Linked DNA regions of Homo sapiens: region 2 is linked to region 1. Evidence: promoter capture Hi-C in human tissues and cell types (Jung and others, 2019). All regions are on one chromosome and are shown on one strand. The core of a region is centred on a gene start or on the middle of the fragment in contact, and the rest is flanking DNA. Distances in the headings are between cores, read along the strand shown. Region 1 holds the start of FBXO39 (F-box protein 39). Region 2 has its middle 80 kb from the start of ALOX12.

The links. The method cuts DNA at HindIII sites, captures the fragments that hold promoters and counts their contacts. A contact is called where the count stands out against the background at its distance.
Region 2: a fragment that was not itself captured here is called in contact with the fragment with the promoter of FBXO39 in region 1 in 1 of the 25 tissues and cell types used here (liver).

What each region holds. Positions count from the first base shown.
Region 1 is chr17:6,774,435-6,777,982 of GRCh38, forward strand. It overlaps FBXO39 (F-box protein 39), which reads left to right and starts at 1,781. Exons shown (of 4, transcript NM_153230.3): 1 at 1,781-1,838. It overlaps XAF1 (XIAP associated factor 1), which reads left to right. Exons shown (of 7, transcript NM_017523.5): 7 at 1-1,213. LOC124903905 (a long non-coding RNA gene) reads right to left here and starts at 1,676. Exons shown (of 3, transcript XR_007065594.1): 1 at 1,586-1,676. The HindIII fragment of the contact is 13,622 bases long and covers 1-3,548 here.
Region 2 is chr17:6,914,402-6,917,949 of GRCh38, forward strand. No RefSeq gene overlaps it. Among named protein-coding and RNA genes, the nearest start is that of ALOX12, 80 kb to the right of the region's middle. RefSeq lists an enhancer at 1-463. The HindIII fragment of the contact is 5,172 bases long and covers 1-3,548 here.

The DNA.
Region 1 (3,548 bases), core at 531-3,030:
TTAAATGTAAAACCCCAAACTATAAAAACTCTGGAAGATAACCTAGGCAATACCATTCTGGACATAGGAACGGAAAAAGATTTCATGACAAAGATCCCAAAAATAATTGTAACGAAAGCAAAAATTGACAAATGGGACATGATTAAACAGAATTACCATTTGACTCAGCAATCCCATTATTGGTTATATACCCAAAGGAATCTAAATCATTCTGTCATAAAGACATATATACACAAATGTTCACGGCAGCACTATACACAATCGCAAAGTCAGGGAATCAAACTAAATGTCCATCAGTGGTAGAAAGGATAAAGAAAATGTGGTGGCAGGGAGTGGTGGCTCATGTCTGTAATCCCAGCACTTTGGGAGGCTGAGGCGGGTGGTTCACCTGAGGTCAGGAGTTTGAGACCAGCCTGGCCAACATGGAGAAACTCCGTCTCCGCTAAAAATACGAAAATTAGCCAGGCGTGGTGGCGAGCACCTGTCATCCCAGCTACTTGGGAGGCCTAGGCGTGAGAATCGCTTGAACCTGGAAGGTGGTGGTTGCAGTGAGCCGAGATCCTGCCACTGCACTCCAGCCTGGGCAACCAAGCGAGACTCTGCCTTAAAAAAAAAAAAAAGAAAATGTGGCACATATACACCATGGAATACTATGCAGCCATAAAAAAGAATGGGATCATGTCCTGTGCAGCAACGTGGATGGAGCTGGAAGCCATTATCCTAAATGAACTCACTCAGAAACAGAAAACCAAATACCACATGTTCTCACTTATAAGTAGAAGCTAAACATTGAGTACACATGGATACAAAGAAGGGAACCGCAGACACTGGGGCCTACCTGAGGTCGGAGCATGGAAGGAGGGTGAGGATCAAAAAACTACCTATCTGGTACTATGCTTTTTATCTGGATGATGAAATAATCTGTACAACAAACCCTGGTGACATGCAATTTACCTATATAGCAAGCCTACACATGTGCCCCTGAACCTAAAAAAAAAGTTAAAAGAAAAACGTTTGGATTATTTTCCCTCTTTCGAACAAAGACATTGGTTTGCCCAAGGACTACAAATAAACCAACGGGAAAAAAGAAAGGTTCCAGTTTTGTCTGAAAATTCTGATTAAGCCTCTGGGCCCTACAGCCTGGAGAACCTGGAGAATCCTACACCCACAGAACCCGGCTTTGTCCCCAAAGAATAAAAACACCTCTCTAAAAGCTGCTCTTCCACCTTTCTTTGGGTTCCGCACTGGTTTTCCAGGGCCAGGAATGGCAGCAGCCAGGACCCCAGGATAAGGGCAGTGCCCAAGGAAAGGGGAGCAGAAGACATTCAGGGAGGGGGAAAGAAATGAGGCTGGGACAGTGGATAAGGGCCAGGTGAAGGGGAGAGGGGCGGCTTCTGAAGGCTTTGGGCAGGGAGAGTGGCTGGGGGAAGCCTAGTAATGCAACCTATCCAGCGGCGGCTTCGGAAAAAACCCGGGGCTGGGTCAGGATGGGAAAGGCAGCGAACTGAACCGTTTTGAGCCCCAAGTTCGGGGCCGAATGTCTTCCCTGTGCGCAGAAGCAAGGGCGGGGGCGTGCCATCCTCACCCGGAGCGCCGGCCGAGCCTCCCGCCTCCCAACGCCTGGCCAGGGCCCCGTCTCGCCCTCTGCACATGGGATCCACTGACCAGGCAACTGCAGGTTTGGGGCTCTGCGACCCGGGGGCAGGAACAGAGCCTTGCAGGCGGCAGCGCGTCACAAAGGCGGCCGGAGCTTGGCATTTAGCTTGGGCCAGAGCAAGGCGCAGACCCGGGGCGCCCATGGAGTTGGCGTCGGAGCAACAGCTGCGCGGGCGGAGCAGGTAGGCGCGCTCCAGTCCCTGCAGCCCGAGCGGGGTTCAGCGAACGGGTAACGGGAGAATGCGGGCCGGAGCAGGCTGGGGTGGCGGTGGGATGCCCCGAGGCCCGCGGCGGGGAGGCGGGCTGCTCTCATCACCCCCTCTGGGAAGCATCTTTGGCTGCAGGAGTTGCCAGGCCAACTCCCCCTCCCGCGGTGGGTAGGACATCTTTAGATTTCCCTCCCTGGTTGGCAGCTGTGTGATATGGTGGACCAACCCTGGGTTCGAATCCTATCTCCCCACTTACTACACGTTCTCCCTGGGAAACTTTATTCACCTTCCAACACCTCCGTTTCCGTATTTGTGAAATGGATGTGTTTGTATTCCTATCTTCCTTGGCGGGACGTTGCAGAAGTACCTCGGCACCAACTTTCTTATTAATGGCAGCCAGCTCTTGTATAGCGTTTACTACGTGGCAGGCACTCACTGTTCCCGGTGCTTTCCAGGTATCAGCTCACTTAATCCTCCCAACACTAAGAGAAAGGCACTATTATTACCCCATATACAGATGTGAGGATTCACACATAAAGAAATTGACTTGCCTAAGGTCATCCGACTGTAATGGGCATAGCTAGGATGCAGCCCACTAAGCTACACTGCCTCTGATGGGGTCTCGGGGGGTAAGGGGAGGCTCCCAGTCATTAAATAGAATTTGGAGTCTCCTTACAGCAACTCTTCCAGACACACATATTCTTCCAACCCCACCCTTACAGCACCAGTGTCTGATGACTTTTCCTGACCTACAACCTTGCTAGGCCAAAAGGTTTCATGGAGCTTTTATTTACTTATTTATTTTATTATACTTTAAGTTCTGGGATACATGTGCAGAACATGCAGGTTTGTTACATAGGTATACATGTGCCATGGTGGTTTGCTGCACCCATCAACCTGTCATCTAGAATTTAAGCCCCGCATGCATTAGGTATTTGTCCTAATGCTCTCCCTCCCCTTGCCCGCCACCCCCCGACAGGCCCCATTGTGTGATGTTCCTCTCCCTGTGTCCATGTGTTCTCATTGTTCAACTCCCACTTATGAGTGAGAACATGCAGTGTTTGATTTCCTGTTCCTGCGTTAGTTTGCTGAGAATGATGGTTTCCAGCTTCATCCATGTCCCTGCAAAGGACATGAACTCATTCTTTTTTATGGCTGCATAGTATTTCATGGTGTATATGTGCCACATTTTCTTAATCCTGTCGATCATTGATGGGCATTTGGGTTGATTCCAAGTCTTTGCTTCGTGGAGCTTTTAAACTGGTTTATCTCTTCTGCAGCACCTTTTAGGAGCTTTGCTTGGTGGTGAGTGCTGTGGAGATCCCTAGCCTTGGGCAGTTTGCAAGTGATTGAAGAGACCTATTTCTTCATTTGTTAAATGTTTAAGTACCTTCTCAAAAGCAGAAGGAGGTTGTCAAGGGGTGTGTGGGTCCCTTGGGAGAGAAAGGCAAGGACACAGATTATACAAAGAGGGGCACTGGCAAGAGGTAGCAGAAGGAGGCAAGCTAAATACGGACACAGCCATGCTGGGAACCACTAGGGCGCCACGTCATGGGCGGGACGGGCTGCTGTTCAGTCCTTTACGGAAGTCTGTTCGGATGTGGCGGTGGGAAGGCCAGCTGGAGACAGGGGCCAAATCAGTGAGTGGGTGGTGAGAGAAAGTGATGGCGTAGTGAGGACAAA
Region 2 (3,548 bases), core at 475-2,974, 140 kb after region 1:
CTGCCTCACTGAGTGCATGGGAATTGGGGGCTCACCGCTGCCTGCTACTCCCCACTCTGCACAAACTCTTCTGCGCAGCGGGGGCAGAAGAACATCAACCCAGTGGCCTGAGACCCACTCCATCCCCCAACATTCACAGGAGCTGCTGCTTGCCCTGCACACGGAGAATCAGAGCACAAACCTGACCGACGCAGCCCCCATCTCGCTTTGCCCCGCCACTTGCCCTGGTAGCTTAACACAAAGGACAGAATCTCTTGAGAGCTCTGTGGCCCTGACTATTGCCTGTGAAACCAGAGTATTCCTCCCTCCACGCCCCCACCACCACGCCCCTCCCCCCCCCCCCCCCCCACACACCCACCTACCGCAGCCGGTGTTCATTTGCAAGCACCACCTCCTGGCTGGAGGCCAACCAGCACAGTCCATTACAGCATCTCCTGGTAGAATAACATTGCACCCAGGAAGAAGGAGGCTCTATGATCTCAGCTATTACCACTGCCTGCATCACTCCGGCTAACCAGGAGGTCCTGAGTCCACATGACCAGCTCATTACTACTATAACTAGCATTCAAGAAAGCCAACATACTATGGCTACCAATAACCAAGGAATTTCAGAGTCTACGTCACTCCCCTGCTACCCCCAGTAGAGCTGGTGTTGCTACCCACTTCTGGGAAACTGGCATTCACAACTGGCATTTCCCAACACCAGCCTGGAGGGTGGCAACGTCACTGGGCAGCTAGACCCAGAGGAGCAACAACATTCACAGTAGCGTGGCTCACAGGGACTCCCACTCATAGGGAAAGGGGGAGTGCGCCCCATCAAGGGAAGACCCTGTGGGACCAAAGAATCGGGATGGCAGGCCTTGAGCATCAGATCCTTCCGCTGGTGGAAAGCTTCCTTGAGCAGAGGCGCAGCTGAAGTGCTAGGCTCAGCGGGGAAAGCCTTCAGCTCTATCGCAACAGTCAGACAGCTTTGGTGCATGGGAAGGATCTTGGAGAAGAGGCAGTCTTTCCCCCCTTGTTCACCACCATATGCACAGTTGGGACTTCTCCCACAGGAGCTCGACATGGATGCAACTATAGACGGCCATTCTGGAACACATCAAGGCGACTGCATCCCCACAAGAGGAGCACCCTCCAGGATCAGGCTTGCACAAGAAACAGTCACAATTCCTCTCTATTTGGAACACCAACACCTACAGATGAAAAGAGGTGCCTGTCTGATCTGAATAGCCAGAGCGCTGGGACAGGAGCATATCTAAGAAGTGGAAAACGTCCCTGCTGACCTTGCAGGGGAGCTAAGGTGGCTCCAACCCTTCTCCCTGATAAGACCTCACTGTGACTCACCGAGGGCTCCTCCAGCCACCTCTGTCAAGCCTGGGTCTTCATTTACCCACTTGCTTTACCCACAACCGATTCCTACTCAGGGACACCTCTTCTACTGGCCTGAAACCTGAACCATCAAACCAGTAAATAAAATACTGGGGGAAAATAAATAAATAAAAAGTGCATGAGATGGGAGAAGGAGATAAGCTTTAAGAAACCTCTACCATTCCAACCCCCTAGGAGATAATGGAATGGAAAACCAAACACTGTATGTTCTCACTTATAAGTGAGAGCTAAGCTAGGAATACGCAAAGGCATACAGAGTGATATAACGGACTTTAGAGATTCAGAAGGAGATTCAGGAGGGTGGGAAGAGGACCAAGGGAACAAAATCTATGCATTAGGTACAATGTACACCATTCAGGTGACGGGTGCACCAAAATCTCAGACTTCACCGCTATATAATTCATCCATGTCACCAAAAACCACCTGTACCCCATTAATAAATTAATAATAAAATAAATTTTTAAAAAAAGTTTTAGCTCACTGAGTGAGCTTGCAGCAGAATGGAGACAGCAAAGGAAACAGTCAGTGAATTTGAAGATAGCTCAATAGAAACTATGCAATTTGAATGACATCAAGAAAAAATTGTTTAAGTAAATAGAGTCTCAAGGACATGAAGGACAAAACCAAAAGGTCTAACATTCATGTCATCAGAGTCAAAGAAAGATAAGAGTGTGTGGTGCACAAAAAAAATAAATAACGACTTCCAATTTTTCAAATTTCATAAAAGATATAACTTACAGCTTCGAAAATCTCAACAAATCACCAACAGGATAAAACAAACAAATCCTCATCCAGATAATCACAATCAAACTAGTGAAAACTAAAGCCAAAGAAAAAAATCTTGAAAGCAAGCAGAGAAAAGCAATGTATTTCCCATAGAGAAATAATAATTTGAATGACTGCAGGGTTCTCATCAAAAACAATGGAGGCCAGAAGATTCATCTGACAAAGCACTAATATCCAGAATCTACAACAAACTCAAACGAATTAGCAAGAAAACAACAATCCCATCAAAAAGTGGGCTAAGGACATGAATAGACAACAATTCTCAAGATATACAAAATGACCAACATATGAAAAATGCTCAACATCACTAATCAGGAAAACACAAATCAAAACCACAATGTGATACCACCTTACTCCTGCAAGAATGGCCATCATCAAAAAAATCAAAACATAATAGACGTTGGCACGGATGTAGTGAACAGGGAACACTTCTACACTGCTGGTGGGAATGTAAACTAGTACAACCACTATGGAAAACAGTGTGGAGATTCACAGAGAACTAAAAGTAGAACTACCATTCGATCCAGCAATCCCACTACTGGGCATCTACCCAGAGGAAAAGAAGTCATTATACAAAAAAGGTACTTGCACACACATGTTTATAGCAGCACAATTCGCAATTGCGAAACTGTGGAACCAACCAAAATGCCCATCAATCAACAAGTGGATAAAGAAACTGTGATATGCATATACACATACATACGATGGAATACTACTCAGCCATAAAAAGCAACGAGTTAATGGCAGCAACCTGGATGCAACTGGAGACTATTATTCTAAGTGAAGTAACTCAGGAATGGAAAACCAAATATCCTATATTCTCACTCATAAGTGGGAGCTAAGCTATGAGGATGCAAAGGCATAAGAATGACACAATAGAATTTGGGGACTCAGGGGGAAAGGGCGGGAAGAGGGTGAAGGATTAAAGAACACAAATTGGGTGCAGTGTTTACTGCTCAGGTAATGGGTGCACCAAAATCTCATAAATCACCACTAAAGAACTTACTCAGGTAACCAAACACCACCTGTTCCCCAATAACCTGTGGAAAGAAAATTTTTTTAAAAAAAGAAAGTAGAATAATATTTTTAAAGTGCTGAAAGAAAAGAGCTATCAACTCAGAATTCTATATCCAGAAAAAAATATCTTTGAGAAATGAAGGTGAAATGATGACATTCTCAGATGAAAAGAAGAAAAAAAAACTAAGACAATCAATTTCCAGCATATGTAATCTAAAAGAATTGCTTAAGAAATTTCTTCAGACAGAAGGGAAGTGATGTGAGAAGGAAACCTGGAACACGGGGAATCAAGCGAGAACAACAGAAACATTAAATATCTGGGTAAATATAACAGACTATCCCTCTCCTAATGAGTT